Linked DNA regions of Homo sapiens: region 2 is linked to region 1. Evidence: promoter capture Hi-C in human tissues and cell types (Jung and others, 2019). All regions are on one chromosome and are shown on one strand. Each heading gives the region's core, a stretch centred on a gene start or on the middle of the fragment in contact. The rest is flanking DNA. Distances are from core to core; before and after follow the strand shown. Region 1 holds the start of HPCA (hippocalcin). Region 2 overlaps S100PBP (S100P binding protein).

Evidence for each region. Contacts are between HindIII fragments. The study calls those that stand out against the background at their distance.
Region 2: a contact is called between a fragment that was not itself captured here and the fragment with the promoter of HPCA in region 1, in 6 of the 25 tissues and cell types used here (bladder, mesenchymal stem cells, ovary and 3 more).

Annotation. Positions count from the first base shown.
Region 1 is chr1:32,884,970-32,887,964 of GRCh38, forward strand. It overlaps HPCA (hippocalcin), which reads left to right and starts at 1,522. Exons shown (of 4, transcript NM_002143.3): 1 at 1,522-1,546. RefSeq lists silencers at 1,641-1,730, 1,811-1,860, an enhancer at 2,116-2,285 and a cis regulatory region at 2,201. The HindIII fragment of the contact is 37,453 bases long and covers 1-2,995 here.
Region 2 is chr1:32,851,723-32,854,717 of GRCh38, forward strand. It overlaps S100PBP (S100P binding protein), which reads left to right. Exons shown (of 7, transcript NM_022753.4): 6 at 1,357-1,444. Among named protein-coding and RNA genes, the nearest start is that of FNDC5, 18 kb to the right of the region's middle. RefSeq lists an enhancer at 2,295-2,464. The HindIII fragment of the contact is 6,967 bases long and covers 1-2,995 here.

The sequences.
Region 1 (2,995 bases), core at 272-2,771:
AGGCTAGACTCTGAGGACTTGAGAGGCTCAGTCTGGGAGCCTGGAGGCGGAGCCCTGGGGTGCCAGGAGGGGCTGAGCTGCCGATGCTGAAGAAACTCTGGGCTGGGAAGGGCCCTCTGGGCAGATGGCAAATGCTGCCGGCTTTACCTGCGAAGTAAATCCAGAAACCAGACCCACCCCGGCCATCTCTCAGCCTGAAATGGCCCCTTCTCCCACCTTGCCCCCAACTCCTCAAAGTCTCTTCTTGACATAATAACCCAAGGAAGCTGTCCACATGGAGGTCACACCCTCTCACTCTGCTCAAAGCCCCCCAGGACTTCCCATCTCATCTGGAATAAAAAGCCTAAAGTCATTGTCATAGGCCCCAAGGCCCTGGATGGCCCCAATGGCAGTTACCATTCTAACTGCCACACCCAAATCCCAACGTTTAAAAACACATGTCTAATATCGACATGTATATTGTGTCCATTGTTTATTGTCTGCGCCTGTAGTCCCACTATCTAGACAGAACAATGCTGGCCGCAGAACTAGTGTTTTATATGTATTTGTGGAATGAATGGATGAGGGCGCACACACTGGAAAAATCACTTAACCCCTTTGAGCCCATTTCTTCATGGGGACAATAAGGACCAACCCCTAGAAATGGAAAAAGGACAAAATCTCAGCCCAGCATGCGGAGAATGTTGCTGAGGCTGGGGGCAGGAGGAGCTGGGCTAGGGGTCATCGACTCTGGAGAGGAGCTGTGCGGTCGGCAGGCAGTGGGTAGGTGCCACAGGATCCCCAGGCAGATGTTCTGCCCTCCTGTCATGGCCTGCACAATCAGAGGCTGGGGAGGGAGGAAGGGAGGGGGTTTCCTTGATTGGAAGGGGGAGTGGGAGGAGCAGCTGACACCAAAGTTGGGAGGTGGGATTAATTCTGAGAGGGGGGTCGGGGTGAGGTCTGGAGTGGTGGGTTTGACATGGGGGCCGGCTCGCCAAGGTGGAGGTGGGGAAGGGGGCGTGTCTGGTCCCCTACCCCGAAGACCTCAGTAGCTGGAGGAATGGGCGCTCCACGCTCCCAGCTCCGTTAGTTGGGAGTTGAGGCGCAGGAGCAGGGAGGGTGCCCAGGGTGCCAATTCGGCCCTCGAAGCGACGTGCGGCTCAGAGCCCAGGTGGGTATGGGGAAGGAAGCGGGGCGGAGTGGCCTGGGATCGCCCCCGGCTCAGGAGAGAGACCTCTTGGCACTACCGTGTCCCTCCATTCCGGCCACCAGAGCCGAGGTGCCGAGGAGAGGGGCGCCGCGATCCTCCTCCCCGGGCAGGGTGCTCCCTCGAGGGGGACCGGGGAACTGAGGGCGTCCCCTTCTCTCCGGGGCGGGGGTGGGGGGCGGAGCCCAGCGCGCCGCTCCCCAGCCCCCAGGGCTGGCGGGGACCCCCCCAGGGGAGGGGCTCCGGGTGAGCGCTGCGGGGCGTCTCCCTCGCAGTCCCGCCCGCCCCTCCTGCCGCCCCTGCCGCGCGCGCCGCAGCAGCGCCGCCTTCCCTGCGCAGTCGGTGTCTCCGCGTCGCTGGGTGAGTGGGGGCAGCTCCAGCCGGGGCCGGGGGATGAGGGCAGGGGGTTCCCGGAGCTGGGGGCCCACGTCCAGGGCTTCCCAACACCGCCGCTCCCGGGCTTCCCGGGAATCCTTGCCCCGGGTGGCGGGGGCGCTGGGGACTGGGAAGCGCGCGGTGCTCTCCAGGGTCCTGACCGCCGAGTGGCCGGCCCCTAGGAACCGCGTTCGACCGCCCTGGAGCGCCCCCTCCAGGAGGGGCCACGCGCCGGGCGCTGTCCTAGTGCTGAGCGGATGGAGGCGGGGGCTGGGGGACAGAGCTGAGGGAGGTTTGGAGCGGGTCCCCGGGGCTGGCTTCTCAGGTCGAGCTGAGGGGGTTCTTCCCATATGGGGGACTGGAGGTCTTTGCGGGCAGCTGAATCTTCTTGCAACCGGGAGGGGCAACTCCGAGGGTGGCAGGGCCCAGGGGGCACTGGAGGAGCTCTCTTGCTCCGCGCATCTCTCTGCCCCCACCCCGGTGACCCAGTTCCTTGGACCTTGAGGAGGGCAGTGCGGGACATGCCCCAGCCCTTCTCATTTCCTTAGCCCTTTCCCACTCACTTGTCCGGTGGGTCCTTAGCCTGGGCCATAAGAGGCTGGTCTAGAAAGGAGGGGCACCAACTTACAGAAACATGCATGTGACACACCGCCGAGGACACACACGGGTCCTCCAAATGGCCACACGGGCTCATTCCCTCACGCTGTGACGGGTGCATACCTGATCACATGCACATCTGAGGCACATGCAGGGACATAGATGGAAAGACACGGCAGGCAAATGCAATGCAAAAACCAGCGGCACACATCATGCATGAGCACATGCACTCACAACACACCCATTCACATGTGTGCAGAGCTTCATGCACATGTATGCACAAGGAGGCCCCTCCTTGCCCTAAGTGGGTGGGGGTCACCTGCACACACGCCTACATCCTTGTGCAGAACTGGCTGGCTGTTTCCTCTTCATTGCCTTCTACTCAGCCTCCACAATCTAACCTGCACTCAGGGGACCTTTCAGGACTAGATGAAGGGTAAGTGTTGGGGAGGCTTGGATGGGCTTGGTGGGGGGTCTCCTTGGAAAAGGGGCCCCGAGCAGGTCTGGGAAGGTTTGCAGCTCCCTCTCCTGGGACCTGGCAGCACCCCTGGGAAAACAGAAGGAAAACAAAGAAAAATGGCAAGGGTGCCTGAAGGTCCCACGTGCAGCTGGCCATGTGAGAGGTGTCGGCATGCGAGTTGGCGTGTGATGGCATGTGTGAGACATGTGGGGTCGTGGGCTGGTGTGTCTTGATGCACAGGGTATGGGAGTTGTGCGTGGTGCCATGTGTCGATTCGTGTGAGTTGTGGAGCAGAGGGAATGTCGTCATGTGTGGAGGCATGCTGACCCATGGGTGGGCGTGGGCTGGTACGTGAGTGGCATGGGATCCAGGGTGTG
Region 2 (2,995 bases), core at 365-2,864, 33 kb before region 1:
AGCATCACTTGGGAATTTGCTTGAAATGCAAATTCTCAGGCCCTACCCAGATCTGTAGTTTTCTGATTATGTATAATCAGAAAGTCTGGAGGCTAGGCCCAGCAATCTGTTTTACAATACCTCCAGTTGATTATAATGTATGTTAAAATTTGCGAACCACTGGTCTAGGGAAATTATTTCCTAACTAGTGTTTTATTTCTGCTTCTATTGAGTTTTAGCCTAAGTCTCAATCGTTGAGTGCAAAATTAGCATTATTGCATAGTGGCAAGGACATGGAGTCACACAGGAGCTAGTTGAATCCTGGGTCATCAAGAATTTCAGGGCCATGCATGGTGGCTCACACCTGTAATCCTAGCACTTTGGGAGGATCATTTGAGGTCAGGAATTGGAGTCCAGCCTCGCCAACATGATGAAACCCCATCTCTACTAAAAATATAAAAATTAGCCTGGCATGGTGATAGGCGCCTGTAGTCCCAGCTACCCAGGAGGCTGAGGCAGGGGAATCACTTGAACCCAAGAGGCAGAGGTTGCAGTGAACCGAAATCATGCCATTGCACTCTAGCCTGGACGACAGAGCAAGACTCTGTCTCAAAAAAAAAAAAAGTATTTCAGGCAAGTTCACCTCCCATAGTTTCCCATCTTTGAAATGATATTAATAACATCTATCTCCATGTAAGATTTTTTTTAGAATTAAGTAAGATAATATGTAAAGTGTCTAGTACATTGCTAGGATCCCAGGTGTTTGAGAAATTGCATCTAGCAATTTTTCTTGTTAGCAAAGAGCGCCCACCTCCATCTGTTCTAAACTCCTCTTGTTTCTTGAATGTATTTGCTGTCTTTTGTCTCTGGGGCTTTGTATTAACTGTTATCTTTTGGCATCCAACCTCCTACCCCTCTTTACCTCACTAATTTTATACATCCTTTAGATCCCTGCTATAGTTACTCCCCCTGGAGGGGGCTTTCCCTAACCCCCACCCCCCCAGTCTCTATAGCAGTCTGTATTTCTATCACTGCATTTATCACACCACTTTGGAATCATCTGTCTCCTGTATAAACTTCATTGAGGTAGTGTCTTGTTCACTGCCATATTCCTAGGGACAAGTAAAGTTCCCTGTATATTGTAGGAGCTAAGTGTTGAATGAATGAATGGTGGCTGCTATTATTGCTTCACCTTCACCCTCCAAGAGTAATCTCCCCATTCTGGTTTATAGTTTCTGTGCTCACTGCTTGTGATAATTGTAAGTATATATTGTTGAGAACAGTGCCTGTTTTCTCTTTCCCTGAAAACACATACTTTGACGTTGGCTGACGTAGTTCACTCAGCTGTTCCTAACCACTGATCCCTCTGTATCACAGGTATCTCGGGGGAGCTTTGTGCCTTGATGGATCAAGTTCATCATATGCAGCACTCAAAATGGCAGCATCCTTCGGACCTCACCACGCGGTGAGTGGGTGATTAGAAGAAGATGGAAAAGGGTAGAATGGCTGGGCGCGGTGGCTCACACCTGTAATCCCAGCACTTTGGGTGGCCAAGGTGGGTGGGTCGTTTGAGACCATCCTGGCTAACATGGTGAAACCCCATATCTACCAAAAATACAAAAATTAGCTGGGTGTGGTGGCAAGCATCTGTAGTCCCAGCCTCAGGAGGCTGAGGCAGGACAGTTGCTTGAATCTGGTGGCGAAGGTTGCAGTGAGCCAAGATGGTGCCACTGTACTCAAGCCTGGGCGGCAGAGCAAGACTCCGTCTAAAAAAAAAAAAAGAAAAGGCGGTGGGGGGGGGGCGCGTGAAATTTGGCTGCAGGAGGAATGTAGTGGGGAGTAGGGGTTGGAATTGTTTAATTCAAGAGGCAGGGGGAAAAAGTGATGCAGTATAATGGAATAAGAACTGGACTGAGGCTGAGCACAGTAGCTCACGCCTGTAATTCCAGCACTTTGGGAGGCCAAGGCAGGAGGATTGCTTGAGCCCAGGAGTTCGAGACCAGCCTGGCCAATGTGAGACCCCGTCGCTACAAAAAATACAAAAACTTAACTGGGCATGGTGGTGTGTGTCTGTAGTCCCTGAGAGTGCCTGAGAGAAAAGGATTGCTTGAAGCCCAGGAGCTTGAGGCTGTGATGAGCAATGATTGTGCCACTGCACTCCAGCCTGGGCAACAGGGCGAGACCCTGTCTCAAAAAACAAACAGACAAAACAAAAACTGGACTGAAATTCAGGAAACCTGAGTTCTAATACTAGCTTTGCAACTTGGTGTCAAAGGACCTTCCTAATTCTGAAATCTTCTGGAATTTTTTTTTTTTAAGACTCAAATTTAGTATTACAGTTTTCTGGATTCTTGATGCAGTGTGGCTGTACAAATTTATTCAGTTACTTTGATTCAGATACTCAAAAACCTTGGAATCATCTTTTACTTTTTTCTCTCTCACCCCATATTCAGTCTATCAGCAAATCCCATAGGTTCTGCATATACAGTTGTCCTTGGTATTCATGAGGGATTAGTTCCAGGACCCTCTCTGGATACCAAAATCCACAGATGCTCACGTTCCTTATATAAAATGCCATAGTGTTTGCATAACCTGTGCACATCCTTCCATATACTTTAAATCATCTCTAGATTACTTATGATAACTAATACAGTATAAATGCTATGCAAATAGTTGTTATACTGTATTGTTTAGGAAATAATGACAAGGAAAAATGTCTATACATGTTCGATACAGATGGAACCATTCATTTTTCTTCTTTGAATATTTTTGACCCATGGTTGGTTAAATCCATGGATGTAGAACCCATGGATATGGAGGGTCAGCTGTATATCCAAAGCCTAACTATTTCTCATCATTTGACCTGGATTGTTGCAAGTCTCCTAAATGGCCTCCCTGCTTCTGCCCTTGCCAGTGCACTGTTCACAACTCAGCAGCCAAAGAAAGAGATTCTTTTAAAGCATAAATCACATTTGCTCAATATTTCCCAGTGGCTTCCCATCTCACATCTTCCCAT